Regions from separate parts of the Homo sapiens genome. Here region 1 is linked to region 2. Evidence: promoter capture Hi-C in human tissues and cell types (Jung and others, 2019). All regions are on one chromosome and are shown on one strand. The core of a region is centred on a gene start or on the middle of the fragment in contact, and the rest is flanking DNA. Distances in the headings are between cores, read along the strand shown.

Region 1 (3,503 bases), core at 376-2,875, 1.3 Mb before region 2:
ACCTTGCTGTTTTATGCAAGTCAAATTAGAATATTTGTCAGATTTAGAATTCTTTGGATTCATTTCATTTAGTTTAGCTCTTTACCTGTGAGCTTGCCTTCTCACTGGGAGGCAAGCACTCATGGATGACTTCACAATGTCTACTGGTACCTTCTTCCCACCACATTTTTACCACCAATGCTCTCATTACCTTCTGATTTCTGTGCTATTTATTACTACTAAGCTAATTTACTAACATCGTTGTCTGGGAGTGTTCTGCCCAATAATTTTGAAATACAATTTCCTGGGCTAGTCTTCATTTTTTTTTTTTTTTTTTTTTTGAGACAGAATCTTGCTCTGTTGCCCAGGCTGGAGTGCATTGGTGTGATCTTGGCTTATTGGAACCTCTGCCTCCCAGGTTCAAGCAATTCTCTTGTCTCAGCCTCCCAAGTAGCTGGGATTACAGGCATGCACCACCACACTGGGCTGATTTTTCTATTTTTAGTAGAGATGGGGTTTCACTATGTTGGTCAAACTGGTCTCGAACTCCTGACTTCAAGTGGTCCACCTGCCTCAGGCTCCCAAAGTGCTGGGATTACAGGCGTGAGCCACTATGCCTGGCCTAATCTTCATATAAAAAATTTGCACACATGTTGGTACAATTGTTCACCTATAACACACAATATACTTAATATATCTGTGGAAAATAGTTGATACATATAATACAAAATTTTTTTTGTTGTTTTGTTTTTTTAGTTTTAGTGTACTTCACATACTGCTTAGAATTTAGGTGTCAGCAAATGTTTTTCCCATACTTGACAAAACAGTGTGTCCACACACTTGCTGTATTAGCATAGGTATGTAATTCTGTAAGCAGGTAAATACTTCAGTGATTGCCTCCAACACTGACAGTGTCAGCTGAGGAAAACTCTAGATGGTAGATGGAGGAATGGAAATTTAAGTCACATATTTTAATCATAGACAATTTAAATTCAGATCCATATTTATAGTTTTGCTTTAGAATTGGATAAAGACCATTTGTGGTCTCAATATTTGGGACTTGCTAAAAGTAGGTACCTTGATGCATTTTGGAGGCACTTCTTAACTCGGATTCCTGAGTGTAACCCAAGTATTAACTCTATGGCCATAGAATGCCGACAGAAGAGCAGAAGAAACTTCCACTTTTATGGTTCCTGGGCATGCAATAAGACTCTCAAGAAATTAGATAGCCAAATCAGTGTGCCATTTCTCATCACCAGAATAGCAAGCTTCCTGGTCTGAGAACCCCAAGGGAAAGTCTAAACTCCATTTTCGCAATCACTTTTCTATTTTCCTGACTTTTCACTGAATTGTACTCACGGGTATAAATCTAACCTTTGATCTACGTGGACCTCATGAATAAGTACAAGTTCTACTTGTTTGGGATTTTAAGAACTAGCAAAAGCAAACAAACAAGCAAAAAAACCCAAATCCTTTGCCAGTCATGGATGTCATGTTTGAGAAGAAATGCTATATATGGCAAGAACTATTGCGGGCAACTTCAAAATTTCATACACAAAAGGAGTTACTTTTTCAAAACTCCAAAAATGGTCATTAAATATGTGTAAATGTATTTATAACTACAGAAAAGTTCTAGAAGACACAAGCTTCCAAAAACATCTATTAGAAATGAAATACCTGTTCAAGATGAAGTTTACTAGAATAGTTAACTTTCCTCCTTTAACCCTTATTATTAATTTTTTTTAGTTTTCCAGGAAATATTGCTATGTTATCATGAACTGCCTAAGTAGATTGTCCCATACATTTTTGATGTTGCTCTAGATGTGTTATGATTTGGATCTGTGTCCCCACTCATATCTCATGTGGAATTGTAATTTCCAAGTGTTGAAGGTGGGGCTTAGTAGGAGATGACTGGATCATGGGGGTGGTTTCAAATGCCTTAGCACCATCTCCCTGGTGCTGTCTTGTGATAGAGTTCTCTTGACATCTGATGAGATCTGATGGTTTAAAAGTGTGTGGCAGTTCCCTGCTTGCTCACTCTCTTTCTCCTGCTGCCATGTAAGGCATGCCTTGCTTCCCCTTCGCCTTCTGACGTAATTGTGAGTTTCCTGAGGCTCCCCAGCCATGCATATCTGTGAGTCCATTAATCATCTTTTTTTTAATAGATTACCCAGTCTCAGGTAGTTCTTGATAGCAGCGTGAGAATGCACTAATACAAGATGCTTACTTCCTTTTCATGTTTTCTGACCCAGCTGTTAATGAGTTTCACTATAATAAATATTAAAGTTTTATACTTACAGTTGTTTGTGAAATCTTTTGGTTAAGTCTCATATTTTTCATCAGTTTTCATGGAGAAGATATATTTTCCCAGCTCTTCATCTTCAATTCGTATATTAAGACTATAAGAAATAGACACTTCCTCCTTTCCCTCAACTTGTAAACCCTCTCATAGGAGGCTTAATGAAAAGAAAGGTGATAGGTGTTTCCTCTTATTTAAGGAGGCACAACACTATACCATTTAAATGTAATCAGATAAAGGATTTTAAAATGTGTATACAATATCAACCTTGATTACCTTTAGAATGGTTGACAAAACCATGGTGGTAAAGAATCGCTTAGTGGGATTACTGGGTAGGAGACCCCCCTGGAGTCCTGGCACACCTAGAAACTTACCTGATTCTGAGGAAGCTGGAATTTCTCCTCATCAGCACGTATCCCCCTTGGTTGTGGTGTAGAGGGATGGAGAATCTGATTTATCATTATTATACAAACCCAATAAGAACATGATGTGGTGGTTGTTAGCCATGGCTCCTAGAAGACAAACTTAAAACTATAAATGATTATAGATAGGTCTGTCTAGTGGTTAAGAACACAAACATGATTTTGGACAAATTATTTAACCTCTCTGAATCTGTTTCCTCATTTATAAAATGAGATAATAATAACTTGCCTCATTGGATGTACACAGAAACAATGATAACATTTTACTTTAAGGCTAAACTGCTTTTTGGATACAACAACAACAAAAATACAGCTATTTTTATCACATGAGAATATGGAAAAGGGTAATTTCAGTGATATAGGAAATGAGTTGTCCTCATTATCCAGTGGTGAGTTGACTTCTCAATAAAATACCAGCTCTACTTATCTTCATTGTTATTATTATATTTTCAAAGACTATTCCAAGCCAGGCTTCGTGGCTCATGCCCATAGTCTCAGTACGGAGCAGACGAATCACTTGAGCCCAGGTGTTTGAGATCAGCTTGGGCAACATGGCTAAATCCTTTTCTACAAATAATACAAAAATTAGCTGGGCATGGTGGACCACACCTGTAGTCCCATCTACTTGGAAGGCTACAGTGGGAGGATCACCTGAGTCTGAGAGGTTAAGGCTGCAGTAAGCAGTGATCACACCACTGCACACAAGCCTGGGTGACTGACACTCTGTTTCAAAAAAAAAAAAGAATATTCCCTAATTCGGACTGCTCATTGATGAATTAAGAAAAGCACATTATTGGCTAAGG
Region 2 (3,289 bases), core at 790-3,289:
TACATTTCTTTTACCGTTGCCTTCAATTTCCATATATTTTGGTTCTTCAAGTTAGCTGGACGTTCTATGAGGTCAGGGAGCAAGTGTATATCCCTAAACTGCTGAGCCTCAACACTCACAGGATGCCTACCAACAGCATCCAACTCTTTTAAGAGACTTAAACACCCAGGTTACTGTCCAAATGAGCTCCCACAGCAAAGAATGATCCGACCTCGAATGTCAATATGCCAAACTTGAGAATGCTGCTCTAGACCACTGGCTTTGACTCTGACAGCGGTGGCCCTGACCATGGTAATGCTCTTTAGTAGCAACTGCTCTTCAGAACAATTTCTCAACTGCTCTGGGCCCAAGTCCCCAGTTTTGTAAAATAACCCTGTCTCAGAGTGTGCGACTTCTGGGCACAAATGCATGCAGTTTGAACAAAATGGCTGATGCAAAACAACCTAGTTTTAGTTATGTTGTTACACCAGGTGTGTGTATTGGATGTTATTTTCTCTGCAGGTCCCTGTTAAGTGGAAAATAAAATGGAATACATAATACAATTAGCTTGAAACTTTTTCTTTCTAGAAAGGAAACAAATACTGAGTGCCTACCGTGGATCAACCACTGTGCAGCCCCTCTAAGTCACTCCATTTAATATCACTGTCAAGTCTTCAGCTTGACGGAGGCCTATCACCTCCCCCTGGAAAAGGAGGTTCCGCGAGGTTGTGTAACTAGCACTAAGTCAAACAAAGAGTCCATAGGGGAACTGTATTGTTTCTAACTTTGCGTAAGTAAACCTCCAAGACACTAAGTGAACAGGGACACCTGAGAGACCTAGTGGAATGGTCTATTATGAATTCACTTTATAACAAACCCTGAAGGCCCTCTCGGAGTGTCCCTTCCTCTGCATTTTCTGTCAACGTCTGGTGCTCAGATGTTTCTTACCTGCACCCCTGCCCTGGTTTCTTTAACCCCTCTGGTCTTCCTTATTCCCTTCGGTCTATCTCAAGCTTTGCTGCCTGAAGTGCAGCTCTACTGAAATTCTGCTCAAAACCCCCTCAATGGCTCCCCTTCTTCCCCAAAGATAACGTCGTATTTTCCATGTTGGGCATTCAATAGCTTCCACCTTCGGGAACTATTGTAAGTTAAAGAAGTCAGTGCTCCATTAAAACCGGATGGCTCTTCCATTCTACAACGTGCCATGCGCATTCTTGCCCAAGCCTTTACTTCTACCGTTTCCTCTCCCTAGAATGCTACCTCTCACCCCGATCTAAAGCTGTCCTCCAGCACCACGCTTATGTGCACCCTCTCCGTAGCTGTCCTTCTCACTGCACACCACCTTGTATTACGGTTATGTGCGTCCGTTTTTCACTCTTCGCTATTTTTCCTCAAGGGTGGGCAAAAAAGCACTCAGAAATGAAATACCCTGTTAAGTGACCACACCTTTACGAGTGACAAAGAAAACGGAAGGGCCGTTGCGGGTGGACCAGCGAAAGGTTAAGCAGCAGCGCCTTAACCGACAGGTGACAGAGCATCTCCCCGGCGCCCTCCCACTGGAGCGCAGTCCCACGCGGCCGTCAGGCTGGAGGAGCCGGGCGGGGAGGCGGTCCCGCTTTGCTCCCGCGGGCGACCGGACTGAGCGGCCCCACCCAGCTCCGAAGGGCGCTGGCGGCCCAGCCTGGCTGGCCCCCACATTCCGAGCCCAGGATTAGGCGCCGGCGTCTCCCGAGCTCAGTAAGCGGGCTGAGCGGCCGGAGACCGCAGGGAGACGGAGATTCTCGACCTTTCCGGGGAGCACATGGCAGAGCCGCTCCTCAACTCGCGCAGGCGCAGAGCCACGGCCTCGGCCACCTCCCCTTAGCCCACCGCGAGCAGGTCCCTGTGCCATTACCTTGAGGGCCTCAAGTCCCATAAGACGGGACTTGCGGTCCTGATCCTTGATGATGAGGAAAGGGCGCCCATATTCATCGAAGGCGAGGGTCCCCATGGACGCCATGGTGCAACAACCGGAATTACTTCCCCCCAACCGGCGGAGACCGCTACGGAAGCGAGAATGCACTTCCCTTTCTCGGGAGGGCCCAAAAGCTTGCGCACGCGCAGCACAAGACGCGCGGGACTTATGTTTCTACTGAGACTAATTTCACGCCAGACAGTATCTTCTGGAATCGGCGGCCTTCGGGAACTTCTATTATCCAGGAAGCCGGGGAGGGGGAGGTTTGAAGACACTTAGTGGAAATCTTAGGACACACAAGTCAAGAGCAGATTGAATTTGTCATTTTTTAAAACGTTACCACTGATAGTTTCTCGATAGTGGGTCCCAAGGAGGAATTCATTGACTTAAAGCACTATTTCTTTATTTCTTCGCACTCCGGCTCCGAGAAGATGGTAGGACCCATTTCCGGTTTTTTTTTTTTTTTTTTTTTTTTTTTTTTTTTTTTTAAAAACGCTGTTGGAAATCTCGCGATGGAGGGAGGAGGAGGTGAGGCTGGAGCGGCTTGGCGGGTTCCTGGGGGCATGAGAAGGGGTGCGGGCGGGCCGGGGGCTCGCGGTCAGCTGAGGTCTCCACTGTCGAGGCGGTGACCGGGTGCGGGCGGCTGCTCTGGCCTCCAGCCTGGCCTTCGGTGACCAGAGCTCCTGGTCGCCGCGCGGTGCCCGCGCCGGTTCTGGCGATCCTTGTCGGCGGGCGCGTTTCCCCAGAGACTGTTCTAGGCTACTTAGTGCAAGTGACTCAGCCTTTGGCACGATCTTAAGGAATAGGGATAGTGGAGGCACACTGATGGATTGGAATCGCAGTTCTGCCGCTCTTCCTAGCTGTGGCTTTGAGGAAATCCCTTAACTTCTTTGTCCCTCGGGTTCCCTGTCTGCAAAGTGACGGTGGTAACAGTAGTGCCTACTCACAGGGCTGCTGTGAGATTCAAGGAGAACGGTGCCTGGCAAGCTGAACACAGTGTTGGTAAATAAATTAACATTTTGCACAAATGGTTCAGTAACTTGCCACTGGTATACAGCTAGTAAGAAACAGTTACACAGCCTGATGCAATGGGTCCCACACTCTTTTTTTTTTTTTTTTTTTTTGAGACAAGACTGTAGCCCGGGCTGGAGTGCAGTGGCGCGGTCTCGGCTCACTGCAGCCTCCGCCTCCCGGGTTCCAGTGATTCTCGTGCCTCAGCCTCCCAGGCAGCTGGGACTACAGGCACAGAACCACCACGCTCGCTAATTTTTGTATTTTTAGTAGAGACGGTGTTAACGCCGTAGTGGCCAGGCTGGTCTCGAACGGCTGACCTCAAGTGATGTACCCGTCTAGGTC

Evidence for each region. The method cuts DNA at HindIII sites, captures the fragments that hold promoters and counts their contacts. A contact is called where the count stands out against the background at its distance.
Region 1: a fragment that was not itself captured here is called in contact with the fragment with the promoter of CCT5 in region 2 in 1 of the 25 tissues and cell types used here (dorsolateral prefrontal cortex).

What each region holds. Positions count from the first base shown.
Region 1 is chr5:11,597,523-11,601,025 of GRCh38, reverse strand. The region is part of intron 2 of CTNND2 (catenin delta 2); the gene reads left to right. Among named protein-coding and RNA genes, the nearest start is that of CTNND2, 310 kb to the left of the region's middle. The HindIII fragment of the contact is 5,530 bases long and covers 1-3,503 here.
Region 2 is chr5:10,249,030-10,252,318 of GRCh38, reverse strand. CCT5 (chaperonin containing TCP1 subunit 5) reads right to left here and starts at 2,039. Exons shown (of 11, transcript NM_012073.5): 1 at 1,874-2,039. The coding sequence starts at 1,978. ATPSCKMT (ATP synthase c subunit lysine N-methyltransferase) reads left to right here and starts at 2,431. Exons shown (of 5, transcript NM_199133.4): 1 at 2,431-2,461. The coding sequence starts at 2,446. RefSeq lists silencers at 889-1,111, 1,442-1,581, 1,652-1,721, 2,472-2,531, 2,542-2,661. The HindIII fragment of the contact is 7,315 bases long and covers 1,531-3,289 here.